2 separate regions of the Homo sapiens genome follow, and region 2 is linked to region 1. Evidence: promoter capture Hi-C in 16 types of primary human blood cells and fetal thymus (Javierre and others, 2016). All regions are on one chromosome and are shown on one strand. The core of a region is centred on a gene start or on the middle of the fragment in contact, and the rest is flanking DNA. Distances in the headings are between cores, read along the strand shown. Region 1 holds the start of ZDHHC1 (zDHHC palmitoyltransferase 1). Region 2 has its middle 8.8 kb from the start of TMEM208.

The links. Contacts are between HindIII fragments. The CHiCAGO score rates a contact against its expected background, and 5 or more counts as called.
Region 2: a contact is called between a fragment that was not itself captured here and the fragment with the promoter of ZDHHC1 in region 1, in 2 of 17 cell types (endothelial precursors and erythroblasts). The highest score is 5.3, in endothelial precursors.

Annotation. Positions count from the first base shown.
Region 1 is chr16:67,413,075-67,419,082 of GRCh38, reverse strand. ZDHHC1 (zDHHC palmitoyltransferase 1) reads left to right here and starts at 2,606. Exons shown (of 12, transcript NM_001323627.2): 1 at 2,606-2,912. LOC124903702 (a long non-coding RNA gene) reads right to left here and starts at 3,180. Exons shown (of 2, transcript XR_007065093.1): 1 at 2,940-3,180. RefSeq lists an enhancer at 2,060-2,717 and a silencer at 2,550-2,939. The HindIII fragment of the contact is 9,596 bases long and covers 1-5,100 here.
Region 2 is chr16:67,214,982-67,221,775 of GRCh38, reverse strand. It overlaps the pseudogene FBXL9P. Among named protein-coding and RNA genes, the nearest start is that of TMEM208, 8.8 kb to the left of the region's middle. The HindIII fragment of the contact is 798 bases long and covers 3,722-4,519 here.

The DNA.
Region 1 (6,008 bases), core at 1,357-3,856:
GGGATTACAGGCGCAGACCACCATGCCCGGCCAATTTTTGTATTTTTGGTAGAGACAGGGTTTCGTCATGTTGCCCAGGCTGGTCTCAAACTCCTGACCTCTAGTGATCTGCCTGCCTCGGCCTCCCAAAGTGCTCAGATTACAGGTGTGAGCCACCATGCCCAGTCCCACCTTGTTTTTTAAAATATTTATTTATTTATTATTATTTTTTAAAGAGATAAAATCTGACCGGGCACAGTGGCTCATGCCTGCAATCCCATGGTGGCAGGCAACTGTAATCCCAGCTACTCGGGAGGTTGAGGCAGGGGAATCGCCTGAACCCGGGAGGTGGAAGCTGCAGTCAACTGAGATCGCACCACTGCACTCCAGCCTGGGAGACAGAGCGAGACTCCGTCTCAAAAAAAAAAAAAAAAGAGAGAGAGAGAGAGATAAGATTTTTTTTGTGTGTGACAGAGTCTCACTCTGTCACTCAGGCTGGAGTAGAGTGGTGCGATCTCGGGTCACTGCAACCTCTGCCTCCTGGGTTCAAGCCATTCTCTTGCCTCAGCCTCCCGAGTAGCTGGGACTACAGGCACATGCCATCACGCCTGGCTTACTTTGTACTTTTAGTGGAGATGGGGTTTCACCGTGTTAGCCAGGATGGTCTCGATCTCCTGACCTCATGATCCACCTGCCTTGGCCTCCCAAAGTGTTGGGATTACAGGTGTGAGCCACTGAGACCAGCTGAGAGATAAGATCTTACTTTCACCCAGGCTGGAGTGCAGTGGCATGATCGTAATTCACTGCAATCTTGAACTCCCGAACTCAAGTGATTCTTTTCTCCTGCCCCAGCCTCGTGAGTAGCTGGGACTATAGGCACAGGCCACCAGGCCCAGCTATTTTTTTTCATCTTTTGTAGAGATGGGAGTCTCTCTATGTATCCCAGGCTGGTCTCAAACTCCTGGCTTCAAGTGATTTTCCTGCCTCAGCCTCCTTAAAGTGCTGGGATTACAGGTGTGAGCCACTGCATCCAGCCTCATCCTTCACCTTGATTTCTGGGTCATGATCTCTGTTTGACCCGAAGTTTTCCAATTCCAGATAAGAGTTAAGTAGTCAGCTTGTACTCTGAAGCCAGAATAGCATTGATATTTATCTCACATTGAGTTTGAGTTTATCAGTCTTGAAAACAAGAATTTAAGTAATAGGTTATGTCACTTGCACAAGGACCCACACACCTGTCATGTGACAGAGAAGGAGTAGTTATGTTGCCTAATAAAACATACAATAAGTATGCTTGTGACTTATACATTTTAGAGATAAGGATGTTTTCTTTCCCTATCTGTCATATCTGCCTTGGAGATGCGCACAGGACAGATAGCAGAAGACAAAGTGTCTTCCTGTCTTTTGAGAAAGCCTGAGCTCATAGAAGATTCCATTCTGAGTGTCCACAAGGAGAAGAGGAGAGGGGACTTTTAGGGAAACCAAGTTAGCAGGGAAGTCTCCCAGGTAGAGAAAGGGAAGGGAGGCTGCAGGCCATGGAGCAGAGGAAGCAGGTGTCTGTCCCTGGCAGCCCCAGGGAGAGGCAGGGGCCTCAGGCAGGGATGGCCTCATAGAGCCCAAACCTGAAAATCTTTGTGGACTGGAGCAATGGTTGTGGCCTCAGTACCAGACAAAACCCTGACCAGAGAGTTTTTTGCTTATTTGTTTTTGATTGTTGTTTTTTGCTATAGGAAAACATGAGTCCTTTGGAATTACCTAGCTAAAAGGAGTACAGTGGAGACTGAGACTGAATTTCCCGGCCGGGCAGGGGCTCACGCCTGTAATCCTAGCACTTTTGGAGGCTGAGGTGGGCGGGTCGCTTGAGTTCAGGAGTTCGAAACCAGCCTGGGCAACATGGCAAAACCACGCCTCTACAAAAAAATGCGAAAATTAGTCGGGCGTGGTGGTGTTCGCCTGTAGTCCTAGCTACTCTGGAGGCTGAGGCGGGAGGATCGCCTGAGCCCAGGAGTTCGAGGCTGCAGAGAGCCGTGATCGTGCCACTGCACTCCAGCCTGGGTAACAGAGACCAGTTTAAAAAATAGAAAAAGACTGAATTTCCCATCAGCCTGGAAGATTGGGGCTTGATTTTTGCTTGATTTAAAGGCAATAAATAAATGAGATATTTTGTGCTGCTTATTTTAAGCTCTTACGCTTCTCGCTTTATATTCTGGGGTACCTGCATTTTTAGTGGTGTAATTTATTTGTCTAGATCTGTTTGCCTCTTAACCTGTAAGCTCCCGGAAGGGTCGGGATATCATGGATGTTCCAGCACATACGCTCATTGAAGTGTGCAGGTTGACTGGGGTTGGGGGAGGTCTCTTCTTGAGAGCGGTGGTCTCAGGATAGAAACTGGAAGGGGGCGCTTTTGAGATGTTAGGATTTCGGGGAGACAAGCTGTGACTCGGGAGTAGGGAAAAGCGGATTTTCTAGACGAAAGGTTAGGAAGAATCTGGGAATGGGCCGACTGGGGCACCAAGAGGGTCCCTGGCAAGCCCCGCCCTGGCCGGGGGACCGGCGCGGAGTGACGCAGCGCGGTTTGGCCGCTGTGGGGCGCCGTAGCCCGCGCCGTTGTCAGGGGAACGGGCCCAGCGCCGGACGAGGCCCAGCCAGTCTGGGTCTGGCCTGGCCGCCCCTCCAGCCTGCTGGAGCCGGAGCCGGAGCCGGAGCCGGAGCCGGAGCCGGAGCCAGAGCCAGAGCTCGAGGACTCACCGGCCCAGTCTCCGTCCGGGATGGGGCCCCGCTCCCGGGCGCGTTGCCGCCCAGTCCCGGGGACCGTCCCTACCGCGAGGGTCTGAGGCGCGGCTGCCCCGGGGAGGGTGGAAGGCCAGGCGTGGGGCCCGAACCTCTGGCTGACTTTGGCAGGGCCCATCTGGCACGGCCTCCGCGGCGCGCAGGTGAGGAGTCCCCGCCCGGTTTCTCACCTCGGAGCCTGGCTTGAGCCACGGGGTAGCGGATGCTGCCGCCTGGCCGGCTTTGGGCTCGCTTCCGCCTGGAGCCGGTGGCCTGAGTTCCAGGGCCCCGGCAGAGCGCGGGGCTTCCTTTTAGCATGCATCAAGTTCACAGATCTTCCTTGAGCGCTTACTCTTTGCCAGGCTCTGTGCCAGGCGTGGGCACAGAGGACTCCCAACAGACGTGGTCTGTCTCCAGAACCCAGAGCATTAAGGAAGGGGGCTGGGAAGCGGATGTCATACATGACTAAAGTGATTTCAGGTCGGGTTAGGCTCTCTGGTATTGAAATGGAGGGGTTGGTCATGGAGGGTCTGTTTTAAAAGGAAACCATGGGAAGAGTTTTAGTTTTTTCTTTGAGACGGAGTTTCGCTCTTGTCACCCAGGCTGGATGGAGCGCAGTGGCACGACTCGGGTCATTGCAACCTCCGCCTCCCGGGTTCAAGCCATTCTGCTGCCTCAGCCTCTGGAGTAGCTGGGATTACAGGCGCCCGCCGCCACGCCCGGCTAAGTTTTATATTTTTAGTAGGGACGGGGTTTCACCATGTTGGCCAGGCTGTTCTCGAACTCCTGACCTCAGGTGATCCACCCGCCTCGGCCTCCGAAAGCGTTGGGATTACAGGTGTGAGCCACCGTTCCCAGCCAATTTTTTATTTTTTTGAGACAAGGTCTCCCTTTGTCACCCAGGCTGGAGTGCTGTGGTGTGAACATGGGTCACCGCAGGCTCCGGCTCCCGGGCTCAAGCGATCCTCCCGCCTCAGCCTCCCAAGTAGCTGAGACTACAGATACCCGCCACCACGCTCAGCTAATTTTTTAAGGTTTTGGTAGAGATGAGGTCTTACTATTTTGCCCAGGCTGGTCTCGAGCTCCTGGTCTCAAGGGATCCTCTTGCCTCAGCCTCCCAAAGTGCTGGGATTACAGGTGTGAGCCACTGCAAGCGGCAGAAGAGTTTTTTATTTTTTGTTTATTTTTATTTTTATTTTCCAGATGGAGTCTCGCTCTGTCACCCAGGCTGGACTGCAATGGCACAATCTCGGCTCACTGCAACCTCCACCTCCCGGGTTCAAGCGATTCTCCTGCCTCAGCCCCCCAAGTCTGGGATTACAGGCGCCTGCCACCACACCCAGCTAATTTTTGTATTTTTAGTAGAAACGGGGTTTCAACATGTTGGCCAGGCTGGTCTTGAACTCCTGACCTCAGGTGATCCAGCCACCTTGGCCTCCCAAAGAAGAGTTTGGATGAGTTTCACGTTTGAAAAGCTCACTTCACTCTGGCTGCTGAGCAGCATGGTTGTGACAGACATACCGGGAAGTCAGTTGAGGGCCATCCTAGTTCTGCCAATCTAGCTGTGCCTCCTAAAATAACTCATTTAGTGTCTCTGAGCCTCAGTGTCCTCATGATGGGAGTGGGTGTTCTGTATGTTTTTTATGAGGAAGTGAGAGGCCAGTCACATCTGAAATCAGTGACTACAGGGATCTACAAGAACAGTTGGAAATGATAGGACCTTCCTTAGAGCTCTATGAGGATTGAATGAGTGAATTCCACTGAAACAGTGCCTGGCACAGAATAAGTGCATTCTAAATGCTGGTGTTGGTTATTATCATGCAAACACTGTAGGAGAGCGATGCTGGAGGTTTGGATTGGGGTAATGACAGCAGAGATGGTAAAAAAGTGGCTTGACTTCCTTTACTGAAAGAGAGCTGGGTTCAGACACGGGTGAGGGGTGGTCTCTGCTTTTGTGGAACTGGTGGTTCACTGTGGGAGACGGGTTTGTAAACAGATAATCACCATGAGATGCAGTAAAAGCAACAGTGGTGCTTAATTAGCCAGATTGTTTTGTTTTGTTTTTGTTTTTCTTTCTTTGTTCTGTCACAACGTTGTTTTTAATGACTCTTGTGTGGTGGGTGTTCCCCAAGGCTGGCTCCTGCAGTCATGAGTTGATTTCCTGGTTAAAGTCAATAACCTTGGCCTCTCTTCACTGGCCTTGTTTCTATTCTGTGTTACTCCCTCCTACTTGTCCCCTTTCCTTGGCTTCATTTGTATCCCAAACAATTTGCAGTGGTTGCTTCAGGAGGAGAATGGCACAGAAAATGTTTGCAAACCATGTCAACTCAGGAATAATTGGAGTTTCAAGCTTTTCTTGCCATAGCATCAGACTTTTTTTTTTTTTTTTTTTTTTTGAGACGGAGTCTCGCTCTGTTGCCCAGTCTGGAGTGCAATGGCATGATCCCGGCTCACTGCAAACTCCACCTCCTGGGTTCAAGAGATTCTTCTGCCTCAGCCTCCAGAGTAGCTGGGATTACAGGCACCCACGTCCATGCCTGGCTAATTTTTGTATTTTTAGTAGAGACGGGTTTCACCATGTTGGCCAGGCTGGTCTCGAATTCCTGACCTCAGGTGATCTGCCCGCCTCGGCTTCCCAAAGTTCTGGGATTACAGGCATGAGCCACTGGGTCCAACCAGCATCAGACTTCCACCTGTTGTTTATGAGAGAGAAAGCAAGGGCCCAGCCACATCTGAGATCAGTGACTTGAGAGGTCTTTGGGAACAGCTTGAAGTTCCAGTTTAATTTTTGGTAGTTGTGTGATGCGCATCCGTTAGTTGAGCTAGAGCTGCTTCTCAGAATTTTAAGGCCAGAGACTTCTCTGGCACCTGTGGGGAATTTTAATAAACAAAGTACTTGTCCCTAAAGAATCTTTTGTAAATGACTTTTTGCAGTGTAAAAATCTGTGTACCGTGAAGTGTTTTCTTTCTAGCTTCCCTTTAGGTAGTTCAACTGGGCATCTGTTAAATCTCAGTGAAAATTATTTCAAAAGCAGATCCTGGGGGAAACGGAAAGTTCATTTAGGAATACTCATAGATAGAAAATCTCCCGACTGGGCACGGTTGTTTACACCTGTAATCCCAGCGCTTTGGGAGGCCAAGGTGGGAGGCTTGCATAAACCCATGAGTTTGAGGTTACAGTGAACGATGATTGCACCACTGCACTCCAGCTTAGGCAACAAAGCAGGATCCTGTCTCTTAAAAAAAAAAAAAATAGGCTG
Region 2 (6,794 bases), core at 2,871-5,370, 200 kb after region 1:
AGTGGTGCAATCACAGGTCACTGCAGCCTCGACCTCGCCAGGCTCAGGTGATCCTCCCACCTCAGCCTCCTGAGTAGCTGGGACTACAGATGCATGTCACCATGCCTGGCTAATTTATATATATATATGTTTTTTGTTTGTTTGTTTGTTTTGAGACGGAGTCTCGCTCTGTCGCCCAGGTTGGAGTGCAGTGGCGAGATCTTGGCTCACTGCAAGCTCCGCCTCCCAGGTTCACGCCATTCTCCTGCCTCAGCCTCCCGAGTAGCTGGGACTACAGGCGCCCGCCACCGCGCCCAGCTAATTTTTTTTTTGTATTTTTGGTAGAGATGGGGTTTCACTGTGTTAGCCAAGATGGTCTCCATCTCCTGACCTCATGATCCTCCCGCCTCGGCCTCCCAAAGTGCTGGGATTACAAGCGTGAGCCACCACGCCCAGCCTATATTTTTAACAGAGACGAGATTTCACCATGTTGCCCAGGCTCGTCTCAAACTCCTGGGCTCAAGAGATCTGCCCACCTTAGCTTCCCAAGGTGCTGGGATTACAGGCATGAGCCACCATGCCTGGCCCAGAAGTTAAATTTCTCTGTTGTTGATTCTGAACATCCTTTTCTTTTTCACTTCTTCCATTGTTTTCTAAACTTAATGATTCCTTGCCCTTTTACACTTTTCTTCTGTTTTTCTTAAATAGACTCTATTACTTAGAGCAGTTTTAGGTTTACAGCAAAACTGTCTCTTCTGCTTTCTGGTTTGAATTTTTGTGTTAATGTTTTTATTGGTAAAAATTATTTAGATTTATGTTATGAGGTAAGAAGCTAAACTGATTAATTTTCAAAGAGCCCGAACACCATTTACATCTAATCTTCTCCTTCTCTGTTTGGTTGGAATCCTCTATCCCCTATTAAATATGAGTCTATAAGTAGATTCTTTTGTTGAATTATGTATACAGTGACATTCATCTCACTGTCCAAAGGAATTTTATTTTGGACATGTTGAAAGTTTGAAGTGTGAGGATCTAGATGTTGAGATCCACTTGGTAGTTGCATTTCTGAGTGAGGAATTCAAGAGAAATATCTGGGTAATAAATATAGATTTGAGTGTCATTAAAGAATAGGTGGCAGTTGAAGCCACAGATCTGAGTAACTTCCCCCGGGGAGAACATGCAGAGCCACAGAACAGCAGGCCACAGAGAAGCCCCAGGAGAGGACACAAGTCCAAGGGCACAGAAAGGAGGAGATACCCAAAGAGGGGAATGAGGAGCTCTCAGAGAGAGGAGGGCACAGACGTCAAAGGCAGGAGAGCAGGAGAGCATTTAAAGGATTGAATGAGGCCGGGCGTGGTGGCTCACGCCTATAGTCCCAGCTACTCAGGAGTCTGAGACAGGAGAATCACTTGAACCAGAGAGGTGGAGGTTGCAGTGATTCGAGATCTAGCCGCTGTACTCCAGCCTGGGCGACAAAGCGAGACTCAGTCTCAAAAAAAAATACATAAATAAAGGATTGAATGGATGATTAACAATGTCAGATCCCACAAAAAGCCCAGCAAAATGAAGAACAAATATTGTCCATGAGATATGTTATCCAAGGAGGCCACCAATGGCTTCAGTGATATTTGGCATCTGGAAAAATAAGCCAGGTGGATTGAGGAGTGAATGAGAGAAGTAGGAAGTGTAGAGCGTGACCTCGCTGGCAAGAAATTTCTTGGCCGGGCGTAGTGGCTCACACCTGTAATCCCAGCGCTTTGGGAGGCCGAGGTGGGCGGATCATCTAAGGTTGGGAGTTTGAGACCAGCCTGACCAGCATGGTGAAACCCTGTCTCTACTAAAAATACAAAAATTAGCTGGGTGTGGTGGCGCATGCCTGTAATCCCAACTACTCGGGAGGCTGAGGCAGGAGAATCGCTAGAACCCAGGAGGCGGAGGTTGCAGTGAGCCCAGATCGTGCCATTGCACTCCAGCCTGGGCTGGAGCAAAACTCCATCTCAAAAAAAAAAAAAAACAAAAAAAAAAGAAATTTCTCTACAGAAAGAAGGAAATAAATAGGGCAAGTCAGGCACAGTGGCTCATGCCTGTAATCCTAGAACTTTGGGAGGCCGAGACGAGTGGATCACCTGAGGTCAGGAGTTTGAGACCAGCCTGGCCAACACGGCGAAACCCCCTCTACTAAAATACAAAAATTAGCCAGGCATGGTGGTGGGTTCCTATAATCCCAGCTACTCTGGAGGCTGAGGCAGGAGAATCACTTGAACCCAGGGGTGGAGGTTGCAGTGAACCGAGATTGCTCTACTTCACTCCAGCCTGGGCAACAGAGAGAGACTCCGTCTCAAAAAAAAAAAAAAAAGAGAGAGAGAGAGAGAAAGAAATAGGGCAGAAATGAGAAGTTGAGATGGGTTTGACAAAGACAAAGGGATTCTCTTCTGGAGAAATCTGAAATGTGTTTGAATGCATCAGGAGACTGGGCACGGTGGCTCACACCTGTAATCCCAGCACTTTGGGAGGCTGAGGCTGGTGGATCACTTGAGGCCAGGAGTTCAAGACCAGTCTGGCCAACAAGTTGAAACCCCATCTCTACTAAAAATACAAAAATTAGCCAGGTGCAGTGGTGCACACCTGTAATCCCAGCTACTCGGGAGGCTGAGGCACAAGAATCTCTTGAACCTGGGAAGCAGAGGTTGCAGTGAGCAGAGATCACACCACTGCACTCCAGCCTGGGTGACAGAGCAAGACCCTGTCTATAAATAAATGAATAAATAAATAAAGCTTCAGGGTGGCCCGGTGCAGTGACACAAGCCTGTAATCCCAGCACTTTGGGAGGCCAATGCTGGTAGATCAATTGAGGTCAGGAGTTCGAGACCACCCTGGCCAACATGGTGAAACCCCATCTCTACTAAAAATACAAAAATTAGCTGGGCATGGTGGCGAATGCCTGTAATCACAGCTCTTCGGGAGGCTGAGGCAGGAGAATCACTTGAACCTGGGAGGTGGGGCTTGCAGTGAGCTGAGATCATGTCACTGCACTCCAGCCTGGGCAACAGAGCAAGACTCCATTTCAAAAAAAAACAACGAAAAACCCATCCTGGCTAACACGGTGAAACCCCATCTCTACTAAAAAAAAAAAAAAAAATACAAAAAATTAGCTGGGCGTGGTGGTGGGCGCCTGTAGTCCCAGCTACTCAGGAGGCTGAGGCAGGAGAATGGCATGAACCCAGGAAGCGGAGCTTGCAGTGAGCCGAGATTGCACCACTGCACTCCAGCCAGTCTGGGCAAGACTCCATCTCAAAAAAAAAAGGAAAAAAAAAAAAAAAGAGGCCGCGTGCAGTGGCTCACACCTATAATCCCAGCACTTTGGGAGGCCAAGGTGGGTGGATCACATGGTCAGGAGTTCAAGACCATCCTGGCCAAGATGGTGAAACCCCGTCTCTACTAAAAATACAAAAAATTAGCCGGGCATGGTGGCAGGTGCCTGTAATCCCAGCTACTCAGGAGGCTAAGGCAGAGAATCGCTTGAACCTGGAAGGTGGAGGTTGCAGTGAACTGAGATCGTGCCACTGCACTCCAGCCTGGGTGACAGAGTGAGACTCTGTCTCAAAAAAAAAAAAAGTAAATAAATAAATTAAATAAATAAATAAATGCTTCAGGGAGTCACTAGAGGAGGGGTGAAGATTCGGGGAGGAGAGAGGTCAGGTGTAGAAGATGGTGGCAGGGACAGGCTTCCACATACCAAGCTTGATCTGGGATAGGATGGAGAGGATATCACCTCTCCCTTTTTTTTTTTTGTTTTTTTGTGTGTGTATGTGTGTGTTTTTCTTTTTTGTTTTTTCAGCATCAGTTTGGTGAAAAAAAGGATGTCACCTCTTCCTGAGGAAGCAGAGAGGTGGGGGTGGAAACATGGAGCTATTTGCAGAGAAGTTCCTCAGAGGCATCTCCTTCCTCAGCGGCCCCTTCACTCAGTGGATTTGGAGACCAGGTTGTCTCAGGAGAGTAAAAAGAGACATAGAGGCCAGGGCTTCAGCAGAGAGGGTTGGAGCAGTCACAGGACAGGAGGAAGATGGAAAATTACCAGAGACACATAGAGAGGGTGTGGGCAGCCTTACTCAAATGTTTCTGCTGTGCCGGGCAGTGTGCTGGGCACCAGCGAGGCAAAACTGAGGAAGGCACAGGGCTGGGGAGTGTGTAGTGAGTACAGATGAGTAAAAAGAGGCTGGGGTGCTGCATTTGAAGTCTGTGTGAGGCACATCATGGGTGCAGAGAAAAGATCAGAAAAGACTCCATGGAGAAGGAGGTGCTTGGCCTGAGACTCGAGAGAGGAATAAACATTTGCCAAATAGACCAATAGGAGCCAGTGAGGGGTGGGACCCCCCCAGAACAGAAAAAGCAGCTGAGCAGAGGCGTGCGGTACAGGACAATGGTCAGAAGTGGCAGCCCCAGAGCCAGGACTAGGAGGAAGGGGAACGGGCTTGGGAAGAGCTTGGCTGAAGCAGCAGGCCTGGGTCCTAGAAGGGCTTGAATGCAGGCTTAGGAAGCTTAGCCTGTGTCCTGGAGGCGTGCGGAACTGGCAGAGGGTCTGGAGAGCACAGGCAGAATCGCCTTTTGGAAGGGTCACATGGTGACAAAACCCAGGATGGATTGGAGCCAGAGGAACTGGAGGCCAGGACCTGATAAGGAGGAAGCTGGCGTGGTCTGAGCTTAGAGGAAGCAGCTCTCGGGCTGCTGGCATACAGTATGGGGACTTCAACTAGGGCAGAAGCAGTGAGGTTGGAGCAGAGGGACAGATTGCACCGTATCAGGGAAACAAAAGTGGAAGGGGCTTGGGTCATTGTGGATGTGGGGAGTGAGGGAGGATTCTAGAATCACTCCCAAATTTCCCACTTGGGTGACTCAATAGAGGGTGGGGAGAGTTTAGAAGGAGCAGAGTTGGAGGATGAGATGATGAGTTCAGATTTGGGTATGCTGCATCGTGCCCTCTGGAGAGAGGCCAGTCAGGCACTTGGCTCCCGGGGTCTGGCGTTCAGGAACATCATGTGGATCGGAAAGACAGTGGTTGGAATGATGGCCCCATGGGGCAAAATGCAGTTGGCCAGGGTACACTCGGAGGGGCACAAAGATCGTGTGCATATGTGCACGTGCACACGTGTGTGTGTTCTTGGGTGGAACAAACCATGGGGAACCCACTCATCTGTGGACTGGATCTCTGTTCTTTGTTGACCCCAAAAGAGCCTGAAGAAGAGCAGGCTAGAAGGTAGGAGGAAAGCCAGGGGGGCAGAGTTGCAGAACCCCAGTGGAGATGGCATCAAGGGGAGTGGCTGCTGGCCATGCAGAGCAGGTGACATGGCAGAGAGAACCCTTGTGGGAGGTCTGAGGTGAAGCCCCCACATGTTGGTGACCTTGCTGGAGGGGAGTTGTTGCCAGGAATGCGTGATCCTGTGGGGGCCAGGGTGGAGGGGTGAGCAGGTGAGGCGAGGGGCAACGAGTGGCGGGACAGCAGGCATGCCTGTGCCTGTGTGCTTCCAAGAAGCGTGGCTGTAGAGGAAGGGGAGAGAAGAGAGGCAAGAGGAAGGGGTGCGGGATGAAAGGAGGCTTTTAGTTGCAGTTTAAGACTCTGGGGTGTTTGTGGCCTCTGAAGAAGGAGCAGTGGAAAGGCATAAACATCAGGGTTCTCAGAGGAGAAGGTGCAGCAGGAGAAGGAGGCCAGGAGAAGAAGTCTTCTGGAAGCAAAAGAGCAGGAGAAGGAGGAAGGTTCAGATGGGCCCTGCCTGGAGGCAGCTGGTGGACATGAACAGGGGAAAGGGAGGGACTTCCCACTTGATGGCCATCCCTGAGAATCCTGGGTGAGGGAGGGTGTATCAGTAGGGCCAGGAGCTGGAGAGGGAGGGGCTTGGAGAGAAGTCTTGGGGCAGGGTGGGAATCGAGCAAGGAGGCCATGACTTCCTGGGCGGAGTTCTGTATCCCTGGTACAGACTCAGAGGAGGCAGCTGGTCTTGCCAGCCCTGGCCGGGCCAGGAGAATGGGCACAGCAGCACGACTGAGGCAGGGCAACAAGGACCCCGAGGAGAGGTTGTCACAGGGCAAAGCCTCATGGAACCCAGCAAAGATGGGGCAGTCAGAGGAGCCCAAGTTGGGCAGGGCTGGAGGAAGGAGAAGGAAGCCAGAGTGAGTGTTTTAGAGCGGGAGCTGCTCCAGCCAACCATGCTCTCCAGATAGAATGCGGACAGAGACAGATGACAGAGCCTTGGGATAACCAAAAACAAGAAAAAGAAAAAAGGAATGTTGACAAAGACCCTTTGGTGCCTCTGCGAAACTCAGCCCCACCTAGGCTGGGAGCACTGGGAGGCCAGGCCACAGGTACCTGGCATCACCCCTACCATGTGCCAGAGAGCGCCTGCGGGACCCTGCAGGCAGGAACCATCTCCCAGGGCTCGGGCATGGGCAGGTGGATACTGAGGCAGTAGCAGTTAGGTACCAGTTAGGTGCTGTGGAAGACACTGGCTTACCGAGGCCCAGCTAGAGCTGGTGACTCACCAAGCTGGGCTAGGACGCTGGTCTTGGGGACTTACTTTCCCTGACCAGTCCCTCCTATTCCCTTAATCCCAATTTTCTCAAATAAGGATGCCGGCAAAGGCAGCACCCTCCATATGTACCGGCCCTGTCCGTTCCTGGGGGAGCCCTGGTTGTCTCTGCTGGTTGGTCCCCATGAAGCAATAGCTGAAGAGAGCTCTTTGTGCCCTCCCTGCCTGAGGGATTGATGAAGTCCTGGAGCAGCCTCTGTATGACCCACTAGTCTAACTCCTCTCTAGAGACCA